3 separate regions of the Homo sapiens genome follow, and regions 1 and 3 are each linked to region 2. Evidence: promoter capture Hi-C in 16 types of primary human blood cells and fetal thymus (Javierre and others, 2016). All regions are on one chromosome and are shown on one strand. Each heading gives the region's core, a stretch centred on a gene start or on the middle of the fragment in contact. The rest is flanking DNA. Distances are from core to core; before and after follow the strand shown. Region 1 has its middle 3.4 kb from the start of APOL1. Region 2 holds the start of FOXRED2 (FAD dependent oxidoreductase domain containing 2). Region 3 overlaps APOL3 (apolipoprotein L3).

Evidence for each region. The method cuts DNA at HindIII sites, captures the fragments that hold promoters and counts their contacts. A CHiCAGO score of 5 or more calls a contact.
Region 1: a contact is called between a fragment that was not itself captured here and the fragment with the promoter of FOXRED2 in region 2, in 2 of 17 cell types (non-activated CD4 T cells and naive CD8 T cells). The highest score is 5.6, in non-activated CD4 T cells.
Region 3: a contact is called between a fragment that was not itself captured here and the fragment with the promoter of FOXRED2 in region 2, in 1 of 17 cell types (activated CD4 T cells). The highest score is 6.2, in activated CD4 T cells.

Annotation. Positions count from the first base shown.
Region 1 is chr22:36,247,832-36,251,667 of GRCh38, forward strand. No RefSeq gene overlaps it. Among named protein-coding and RNA genes, the nearest start is that of APOL1, 3.4 kb to the right of the region's middle. The HindIII fragment of the contact is 1,506 bases long and covers 878-2,383 here.
Region 2 is chr22:36,505,270-36,508,906 of GRCh38, forward strand. It overlaps FOXRED2 (FAD dependent oxidoreductase domain containing 2), which reads right to left and starts at 1,771. Exons shown (of 9, transcript NM_001102371.2): 1 at 1,740-1,771; 2 at 627-1,154. The coding sequence starts at 1,153. RefSeq lists a silencer at 1,518-2,017. The HindIII fragment of the contact is 16,870 bases long and covers 1-3,637 here.
Region 3 is chr22:36,139,752-36,143,675 of GRCh38, forward strand. APOL3 (apolipoprotein L3) reads right to left here. Exons shown (of 4, transcript NM_145639.2): 4 at 578-2,307. The coding sequence ends at 1,449. Among named protein-coding and RNA genes, the nearest start is that of APOL3, 19 kb to the right of the region's middle. RefSeq lists enhancers at 1,202-1,703, 1,704-2,203. The HindIII fragment of the contact is 156 bases long and covers 2,269-2,424 here.

The DNA.
Region 1 (3,836 bases), core at 381-2,880, 260 kb before region 2:
CCTTGGCCATCTTTGCCTCCAAAGTGGCAACTGTAAATGCAGAGCTGCAATTCGTGTGCTGGCTAAACACACAGCTGCAGCCTTCAATGATACTCACCATCGTTTTACACTTCCCAATCAAGAAACCACCCAGATCAGGCATGTTCCTCTGCAAAATCGTATGACCCAAAATCATACAACTGCTGCCCATGGTGGAGCTTGTGCATTAATTAAAACAAAATGTTGTGTATATAGCCCTCATTACTCTCATAACATAACACAGGCTCTGCTGACGTTAGATACCCAGAGTCCAGCCACAGAGTCTTTGTCTTATGATCTTATCACCTCATGGTTTAATCAACTCCCAGACACGTGGAGAAACTTTGTATCTAGCGTAATTGCAATTGCGTTCATAATCCTTTGTTGAGGTTAGTGTTGCTGCTGGGGTGTCTGGCTGCAATGCTCTTCCACAAAACTGGCCCCAGGAAAATCACAGAAAAACAGTGTGATGAGATTGTGAGGGCCATTCAAGGCTATGCAGGGGTGTGGAGAGCATGGTGGGCATGTCCCGTCAGACAGCAATAACTGAAGCATCCCCTAAGAATAACCCTACATTCCTTGGTGAATTTTTGCTCAGTGTTCCAAGGTATGGATCCCGGGAATGGCCAATCCAGATGTTTACATCATACTTATGAAGAACTCTGTTCCTTGGATCAGAGGTTGTGCAAGGAATCAAGACCTTTTGTTTTGGGCTAGGTGGAGGTTTCCTGGCAGAGGTGCTAAGTGGAGGTTGCTCTGGGAAGAATATCATATAACCTGCATGCATTTGACAAACAGGAGGGGATTTCTTGTCTTGCCTGCTGCTCCTGGGCAACCTGTACATAAGCTCCCTGAATAAAGCTTATGTCTCACCTGCTGTCTCCAGGTCTTTTCTTCTGTCTCTCCAAGTCTGTGTCCTGTCAGCTCATTAGCATAGGGGTCCAGCATGACAAATATAAAACGGTGTTTAACATTCTTTGGATTATGTTTATATAAATGTGTTATTAATATGTGTTCCAAAATTGTACGAGATTCTATAGGTCTAATATGTCTTGGCATATGTTATCAGAAACTATTATTATTATTATGTTAAGTAGTTGTTTGCCACAGAAATAAAGTAATTTCCTTGTCGAATGTGTCTTTACCAATGCTGTTCTCATACTTTTGTTATCTGCAAAAAGTGTTTACTTTACATCTCAAAAAACAGTTTATGATCAGCTACAGATTGTGCCATCGGACTAAGAAAAAAATAAATCTTCCAGGACTGTAATTCAAAAGTTGATGTGGTCATGAAGATTGCTAACCCAATATCAAGTGGAAGAAGGTTATTACATGGGAATGAATTAATGGAGAACAAAAATAAATTTTTAATGACTTTTTGTTTAATATACGACTGATTCTTTTGTTTTGTTTTTCTTAGTCAAGAAAACTTCTTTTTCCCTTTGGGCTCCATGTAGCTTTTAACAATTGAATAAAGTATACTCTTGTGAGCAAAATTTGAAGCATATTTCTTTCTCACTATCTGATTTCTCCAGAATTTGGAAACTATTTGTGAGTATTCTTAGTTCATGGCAATAGAGTTATTTGCATAAGTTCAGTTGGAATCTGTTTTCTTTCATAACAGGACACAACTAGAGACACTGGTTATTTTACCAAGGCTTTGACTGGCATGGCATATTTCCACATGTACGTAGGCTGCTTTGAGTAATGGTGGCTGGCTTATAGAGCCGATGAAAGCCTCTTTGAAAAATTTTCCTCAAACTTTGCCTATACAGTTCCTTTACAGGGTTCCTGTCCTGTGGTAAGTAAAGAATGTCACTTTCTGACAGGCCCAGGAAGCCCAAGTTACCTTGGGACCTTGAGGAGAAAGGAACTCACCTAATATATATAGGCATCTGCAGGCAAATATAAATCACTGGCTGAGCTTGAGATTTTAAAAGGCCTACTCTGAGATATCTTATGAAAAAGAAAATATTGTAGCAAAGTCAATTTCCAAAAGGAGCCCATATGCCAAATAAGTATTCTTGCTGCACTTTATACAAATGATCAGGCCAAGAACCATCAGACTAAAACTTCTGTTGCAAATAAATTAGCCCTACTATGATTTGTCTTTGGTAGAAATACAGGACTAGAGAGAGAAAAGGTATGTTTCAAAAGAAACTAGAGAATGCCTGTTATTGGATTCTAGCTTTCTCCATTGTTTTCTAGCCGTATTGTTTGTCCACAGTTTATCTGGACTACATACTGAATTCTTTCCTGGCCACAAGTCTCCAAACTAATATTTTGCTTTTCTTTTTCTCTCATTTTTCTGACTTGGAATCACCAGAAATCCAAACTGTGCTTTTCTTAAAGTCCTGCAAACTGAAGCTTGAAAACTGTGTTATAGTGAAGGAAGAGAAAGACCCTCTCATATTATTTTTATATTGTTTTGTACTCAGTACCTGTTTTAAGAAAAAACAACAAGGAAGTAAAACCAAAGACAGGCAGCCCGGCGCCAGGCCCGAAACCAGGCCTGGGCCCGCCTGGCCTAAACCCATTAGTTAAAAATCAACTTATGATTCAGAAGCCGATGTTATTCATAGATTCCTTACATTATGTAGAAGAACATTGTGAAACTCCCTGCCCTGTTCTGTTCCCCCCTGACGACCTGTGTATGCAGCCCCTGTCACGTACCGCCTGCTTGCTCAAATCAATCATGACCCTTTCGTGTGAAATCTTTAGTGTTGTGAGCCCTTAAAAGGGACAGAAATTGTGCACTCAGGGAGCTCGGATTTTAAGGCAGTAGCTTGCCGATGCTCCCAGCTGAATAAAGCCCTTCCTTCTACTACTCGGTGTCTGAGAGGTTTTGTCTGCAGCTCGTCCTGCTACAATAGAATTCAGACCAAACTCGTGACCAGAGACTCATTTGCTTCTACAGTGTTTTGTCCAAAAGATGTTGAAGAACGGCCAGGCGCAGTGGCTCACGCCTGTAATCCCAGCGCTTTCGGAGGCCGAGGCAGGCAGATCACAACGCCAAGAGATCGAGACCATGCTGGCCAAGATGGTGAAACGCTGTCTGTACTAAAAATACAAAAATTAGCTGGGCTTGGTGGTGCGTGCCTGTAGTCCCAGCTACTTGGGAGGCTGAGGCAGGAGAATCACTTGAACCCGGGAGGTGGAGGTTGCAGTGAGCCGAGATCACAACACTGCACTCCAGCCTGGCAACAGAGCAAGAATCTGTCAAAAAAAAAAAAAAAAAAAAAGTTGTTGAAGAACAAGGAGAAAACGTGAAAGGAAAATCAAATCTTGGGACCCCAAAACTCACTGGAAACAGTTAAGCTTAGAAACGGAGTCACTCCAAAACCTGCCTTTGTTTTTGCTTCTAAGCAGATATTTGCGAAGACAAAAGGCAACATGTTCCCCAGGTAGCCTCCTTCACAAATTGCTCACAAGGAAACTCCTTGTGGGTCCCAGCAGTTTTTACCCTGAGGCAGACTTTGTGTAATTTCATTGTGACAATGCAAATTAGCAACTTATCTTTACTGGTACATGATAAATAACAAGACTTCTGCCCACCCTCAGAAAAATGCACATATGCCTGCTTCCTCTACTCTATGTTCATTTTTATCTTATATAAAATGTAGACGAACTGTGCATGAGACGAATGAATAATTGACTGTTCCTCTACCCCCTCCTTTCATAGACAACCTGTGGATTCAAGGAGGGCTAATCAAAGCTTCACAAGAATGTGACCACTCACCTCATTACCTATCCTGTCTTTTTTCCTTTCCTCCTTCCACTCCTGCCTGATTTTACACATTTAAATACTGGAGGCCTCA
Region 2 (3,637 bases), core at 521-3,020:
CTTTACAGGTGAGGAGGCACAGGCCCTGCAGGCCCATGGCTTGAGAGCTCCTAAAAGCAGCAGAGCCAGAGTCTAAACACAGATAGGCTTGATTCCAAAGTCCTGCTCCTTCCATTGGTGAGGATCGCCATCCAGGGGAGGGCAGCTGGGGACTTGGATCCTGCCGGCTTGCAGAAGAATGCTTTGATCACAGAGTGGTTTCAAAAATAGAATTGAAGGCCGGGTGCGGTGGCTCATACCTGTAATCCCAGCATTTGGGGAGGCTGAGGTGGGTGGATCTCCTGAGGTCAGGAGTTCGAGACCAGCCTGGCCAACGTCGTGAAATCTCATCTCCACCAAAAATATAAAAAAATTAGCCGGGTGTGGTGGTGCTTGCCTGTAATCCCAGCTACTGGGGAGGCTGAGGCAGGAGAATCGCTTGAACTAGAGAGGCGGAGGTTGCAGTGAGCTGACCTCGTGCCATTGCACTCCAGCCTGGGCGACAGAGTGAGACTCCGTCTTAAAAAAAAAAAAAAGCGAAATACCCTTTTTCGTCCATTCCTCCCATACCTACTGGCCAATCAAGGTGTGTGGTTCGTGTGGGGAAGGTCCCAGCTTCCGCAGGTGAGCTCTGGCACCGGCCTTACCTGCACTGATGCACCTGGCCCTTCTGGTCAGTTAGGATGAAGTAGTGGCCATTCCAGGCCTGTCGGTCCTTGTCCAGAGTGACGTGGGCGATGGTGGTGTTGTACTGGACACGGAGCCCCAGCGTGTCCGCGAAGTCACCCAGGTAGCGCACCATGTCGCGGGCGTCGGGGAAGTAGGCACGCGAGTAGTGTCTGAAGAGCAGCCGGGGGTCGTGGCTGAGCAGAGAGTTCCAGTCGTGGCGGAGGTTGAACTCGGCGTTAGCCTTGCCCGTGTACCGCTTGTTGATGCTGATGAGCTTGCGGTGCCGCGGGTAGCGTGTGAAGAAGCTGCCGGGCCGCGGGGCCCGCTCGAACACTGCGTAGTCGCGTCCAGCGCGCTGCAGGAAGTAGGCCATCTGCAGGCCCGCGGGCCCAGCGCCCAGCACGCAGTAGTCCCGGCGCGGGGGCACCGACAGCGCTGGGTGCAGGGCGATGGCCAGGAGCAGCCCCGGGGGACCCCACAACGGGGCCGCAGCGGAGAGGCCCATCCTGCAGCAGATCAGAGGGGTAAGGCCTCGCACCCGGCCCGGCGGCTGGGAGACACGAGGCCCAGAAAGAGGCGGGGCCTGCGGGAACTCTCACTGCAATCTGGGTCACGGCCAGGCCCAGAAGCCGTCCTCAGAGCTCATTTGCCCGGACTCCACCGTTTCAAGCTGGGACTTGGGGCTCCCCGGAATCCCGAGCCCCTCCATCTTATCTCCCTCAGGGTCTCCTTCCTCAGGGGCACCGGCTCCCCGCTTATGATTGTAGTAACCTCCACCCTGGGGAAGGAGAGCGTACTCCCCAATTTTCCCCTAATTTGAGGGTGCCCAACACCCCTTTGAACCACCCTCCAGGTTGGACCTTCCAGAGGCCTTGGCCCCTCTCCAGCGACCGGGTGGGAGCCTGAAGTGGGTGTGGCCTGCGTGCGCCCCGCCCCCTGCCAGGGTCCGCGCGCCCCAGGCTCTTCGGCCACGTGACAGGGATGCCGCGCACACCTGCCGCCCGCCCGCGTGCGCTTCAGGAGCCGCCAGGTCCCTACGCCCGCAGCTCCGGCCTCCCCGCCTCCGACCGAACCCTGAGAAACGCGCGAACCTCCCAGCCGCTCCGGCTGCAACCCGTGGTCTAATGAGGCCGCGCTTGGCTCGCTTGCTCCGCGGCGGCTCCGCCCCTCGCGCCCGGACCAATGGCAGGGGGCGGGGTCACGTGCGCGGCGCGCGGCACGCCGGGACCAGCTGGCAGGCTGCCTGCTCCGGCCCAGCGCGGGAGAGGCGCGCGCGTGCTGCGTTCGCTGCTCCGGGGGCTGGTAGAGGGGCCTGGGGCTAGCGCGCACCCGCGAGGGTGGAAGGTCTGGAGATCCGGGATGGGGAACTGGGTCCTTCGTTTTAAAAGGTGCCTCTCTACACGGAGGGAGGGGAGCACGTGATTTTTGGAGCTAATCCTAGCTCTCATATTCCATGAATGTAGCCAAACGCTAAAACTAGTTGGCCTACCCAGTTTTGTGGGACTGGAAACCAGCGTGGTGGAGCCAGGACCGATAAGCCAATTAACAAGCGTTTGCTACAGTGACTCAGTGTACTGCTTACCAAGTAACATACACGACTGTCCTAATCTTCCACCAAATAGGAGAGGTGGGCAAGGCATTGTTTCCGACATTTGGTAGCTGACTGGTCAAATGGAGACATAGGGATGAAGGGATATGTTTACAATCACAGGAAGTGGAGCCTGGAATTAAAACTCAGTGGAGGCAAGATAAATGGCAGGAGGAAGATAACGTGAACTGGATGATGAAGGTTGGCTTCCCAGGGGTGGCAAGTGGCCCCTGCATGAGATTTACATGGGGAGAAATACGAAGTCAGTGTAGGAACCTTCAAAGTCCAGTGAAATGGGGCTGAGTGTTCTTGGGGGAAGGGCAGGTGGAAAGAACTGCGAGCCTGCAGATTTGCATGGCTGGAGATTCTTTGAATTAAAAATCGTAGCTGGGGACTCCTTAGAAAAATTTTCCTGACCTCTCAGGCCTACAAGTACCTACCAAAGAATGTCATTTACTTTTTCTTTTTTTTTTTTTTTTGAGATGGAGTCTCACTCTGTCGCCCAGGCTGGAGTGCAGTGGCGTGATCTCGGCTCACTGCAAGCTCCACCTCCCAGGTTCACGCCATTTTTCTGCCCCAGCCTCCCTAGTAGCTGGGACTACAGGTGCCCGCCACCACACCCGGCTAATTTTTTGTATTTTTAGTAGAGACAGGGTTTCACTGTGTTAGCCAGGATGGTCTCGATCTCCTGACCTCGTGATCCGCCCGCCTCGGCCTCCCAAAGTGCTGGGATTACAGGCGTGAGCCACCGCGCCTGGCCGAATGTCATTTACTTTCTTCAGTCTGTGTCAACATCAGAGAAAAGCTCCCTCAGAGCAGAAATTGTCCAGTATCTGACATACGGAAGTTTAAGCATTTGTTGAATAAGCATTGCAACCAGAGAGGTCAGGCAGAATACTTTGCCAAAAATAAAGTAGGGATGTCTTATTTCTTCTTTTTGAGACAGAGTCTCACTGTCACCCAGGCTGGAGTGCAGTGACACAATCATGGCTCACTGCAGCCCTGACCTTCCAGGCTCAAGCGATCCTGCTTCAGCCTCCCAAAGTGCTAGGGATTACAAGTGTGTGCCATGGCCCCTGGCCAATTTTTCAAAAAAATTTTTGGGGGCATATGTGTATATATTTATGGGGCATATGAGATGTTTTGATAGTCATGCAATTTGGGGATGTCTGTTTCTTAGTGGTTGTGAAGATTATGAGAATGGGTGCTGGCAAACAAGTTCCTAAAATAATTGCTGGTCTTATGTGGTGAATACAGTAGTGGGAAATTAAACAGAATTCGTCAAGTATGGTAGGGCCCTACGAGTAGGCTGAACCTAGATTGTAAGCAACAGGATGCTACTGGGAGTTTCTGAATGTAGGATTACTGCAGCAGTCAACTTGGTAGCCCCATGCAGGACAG
Region 3 (3,924 bases), core at 1,097-3,596, 360 kb before region 2:
TCTGGTTTTGCTTTTCTCTTCCTTGTTTTTTTTTGGGGGGGGGACGCGGGGGATGGAGTCTCGCTCTGTCTCCCAGACTGGAGTGCATTGGCGCCATCTCGGCTCACTGCAACCTCCTCCTCTTGAGTTCAAGCAATCCGCCTGCCTCAGCCTCCTTAGTAGCTAAGATTACAGGCACCCACCACCATGCCCAGCTAATTTTTGTATTTTTAGTAGAGAAGGGGTTTCACTGTGTTGTCCTGGCTGGTCTCCAACTACTGACCTCAGGTGATCCACCCGCCTCGGCCTCCCAAAGTGCCAGGATTACAGGCCTGAGCCACCGTGCCCAGCCTCCTTTTATTTTTCTTCACAAATCAATGACTTTTCCAATACAGAATTTGGAGTTTCATTGGAATGTCATCGTTCCCTCAGTGTATCCTGGCCCCAAGCAGGGCTGACATTTGTCAAGTCCTCCTGCTGTCTGCTGACATCATCACCATCACCTTTACCACTGTTCAGACAAAAACTTCAGACAGGAACTTGCTCCCAAAGCGAGAAAGGAGCCAGGAGACCAAGGAATGACTCGAATAAGTCCAGCTTGGTGAGTAGGTGAGTTTATTAGGACTTACACACAGGGCACTCAGCAGGATGGCTCTAGAGATCCGGCCTCCCCCAGTCTCTAAACTGCTTTTCAGTTAATTTTCTGTCTCTTTGCCTGCTGTATATGAGTAATGAGACTGTTTTTCTTGGTAGGTTCTCGCATACTCTCCAGGATGTTTGGGTTTTTAGAGACACCTGGTCCTCAGCTGGGGACAATGGCCATGGCTCATTACCTGGCCTTCAGGGTTCAAGCAGGGGACATATACCCCTAAATAACCTAAAGGGGATCCATCACACTACAACCACCACCTCCACCGCCATCATCAAGAAGCCACTGGCTGACTGAGATACACTTCCAGGAGGACAAGACAGAGTGGATGCTGGAAAGACAGGGCAGGGGACCATCACCAGGGAAAGACTTCATTCTTGGAAGGACATCGAACCGGGGGCAGGTCGGTAGTGGAGCCGCTGTTTCTTCTGCTGTATCCAAAAGTTCTAACTCTTCGGCTTTCTGCATTTTCAGCTCTTTCTTTTCCTGGCCTTCTCATTGCTGGTTCCTGCACACCTCCCCTCTATTCCTCCCCCCAATATATTCGTTAGTCTAAAGGAAATTTCTTCTTCCTATTCCCCACACTCTCCAGTCCCCTCTCCTCCCTTATTCCAGGCTCCAGCATTCCTGCCTTCTCCTTGGTGCACTTGCCATCTGCATTAACCCCTCCCCTGCTGTGCTCAGCTACAGAAATGCCAAAGTCACTAACACTCAGCTCCATAAACTTTACCTTGCCCTCTTTATCCCCCTAATAAAATGCCTGCATTTTGTCGTGGCCTGTGTATGGCTCACCTCCCCTGCTGGCTGCACTGGTCTGGGGTCAGTGGGTATGGCATGGATTCAGACGCTGATAGATCTGAGTGAGCTCCATTAGATTCTCCTCCAGCTCCTGAGCCTGCCGCCTCAGCTCCTCAGCAGATGCAGACTTTGCCCCCTCATGCAAGTGCTTTGACTCGTATACAAGGTTGACCACATCCAGTGCAAGGAAGATGCCTGAAGTGGTCGCACTCAGGATCCGGGCTCCTCTGCTCACTGCCCGGGTGGTGCCTGCAATCGTTCTCTCTGCTTGACCACCACTTCCAGCTGAGATTCGCCAGGTGGTCACAGGGAGTCGGGCCCTGGCTCTGGCTTGCCTGATGGCACGGATTTCACTCCCAATGGTTTGTGTGGCTTCGTAATAATTATTAAGAAGGGAAAGTAAGTTGGGTGTGATGTCACGCATAACTTCCTTAAATACCTTCAATCGGTCAATGCTGGTTGCAGTCAGCCTGCTGGCTTCAGCTTCTGCTGATGATGTGTATGAGTGCTCCACGATGCTGGTGGTGATCCCAGTCACAGCAGACGCTGCTCCCAGCCCTACCCCAGCTGCAGTAAGGGCCAGACTCGTCCCTGCTGTAAATGGTGCCAAAACAAGACCAGCAAGGGACATGATGCCAGAGGCAGCGCCAGTGGAGCTGGACACCACATTGGAGATGGTGCAGCCTCTGTGGACCTCTTCAATACCATTTGCAAGGGCACGAAGCTTTTCTATGGACTCCTGGATCTTCCTCTTGACTTGGGGAAACTCTTTCAAAAACCATTCCCTAAACTGCTCATCTTTCTGCTGCACATATTCGTCCTCAATAGCTGCATATGTTCTAAGCTTCTTCAGAGCTTCGTAGAGAGCATCTGCCTCATCCCTGTACCAATAAAGGACAGATGATTAAGAAAGGCAGCTTACTTATCTGTAAAATCAGCTCAATAAGATCTGTTCTACATAAATCACAGAGCTATTACTATGAGTCAAATGGAAATAAAGCTTTAAATTTTAAATGGAAAAATTTAAAATAATTTTTCCAAGGTTAAACATGTTTTGTATATCATAGATATGCCACAGTACTTATTCTGTATGGGAATAAAAAACTTAAAGTCATCTTCAGATGCTCTTTAGTGGTAGGTATTCGATAAAGATGGCTCCTCAAGCAAGAGAGGTCAACATCATCCCTCCAATAGTGTGTGGAGAGGGGAAATTTTGTAGATGAACAAAGAGAAGTGGGTTCGGAGCAAAAAGACCTTCATTCAGAGGATCATAGAACAGTGAAGGATTAACTTTATTAGAAGAGAGGTCGTTCTTTTGTCTTTGGGCCCTGGGAAGGGATCTCTGGGGCCCTGGAATGTCCTGCCTGGTAGGAACATCTTTGTTTCCCTGGTGGTTTGGCTACAGCACAGTATAGCAATGTTATGGGTGATGGGTTTTGGGGCTATTACGTATCTTTTCTGCCTTCCAAAGGAACTGGGAACTAAGGGTGTTAGACCTCAGGGAGGGGCTGGGGACTCCATGTCAGCCATCAGGACAGCTTGTGATCCAGCCCCAGAAAGAGCTCTGTACATTGAGGCATAGGTTGAGAAAGACTTTCTCCTTGGCCAAACTCCAGTCAGGCTGCTCTGAGCCTTTTCTCCTCTAGGCGCTGACCTTCCATGCCCATCCCGTGCTTGCTGGGCCTGTACTGCCCCAGTTCAGCAAGAATCCCCCAAGGCAGTTAGGGAGGGTCCTCCCCACTTGCTGTCTGAGCATTCTTGCTGTCTGATCACGGTCTTCACCCGCTCCTTACCTGCCTTTAGTTGAGCAGCTTGTTAGGCCAGTTTAGCAGAAACCCCCCATTCTGGTGTCTCCAGTCAGAACTGGTCCATCTCCCACTCCTCACCCTGGTGTTGGCTGTGACTCCCCCTCTGTCTTTACTATATTGGGAGCTGGGCTCAGTCTCCCTCCCCTGTAACACAATCCTGAATAAAGGCTTCCTGATCTAATGTGATTCACAGGAATTTTTCCTTAACTGGGTGAGCTTCTCTGGTTGGCAACACCCCATGTGTTTTGTCCCACATTCACACAGGAGAACACAGCGTCCTGAGGACAACGAAGCTTCACACCTGAAACCCTCCCAGACTCTGCCCTGTGTGTCTCTTCCTTAGGCTGATTTTAATCTGTGTTCTTTCCCTGTGATAAACCACAATCGTGCAATAACAGTTATCAGTGAGTTACGTAAGTCTTTGTAGTGAATTATCAAACCTGAGTGGGGGCTTAAGAAACACCTTCAAATCTGCAACTGGTGTCAGAAGGAAGGGTGCCTTCAGACATTGCATTTTGACTAACTCTGAGTCCTTAAGCTATCAAATAAAACCTCAGACTGGAAGAGATCACCTTGCCTGGCATGTTCTCTCTTCCAATGCCACATGCCCTTTGATCTTCTGACTGAAGGCCACTGGGTCCAGCCACTGCCCCCTTTGACTGAAAAGTGAAAGGCCTGGCTATTAGTCCT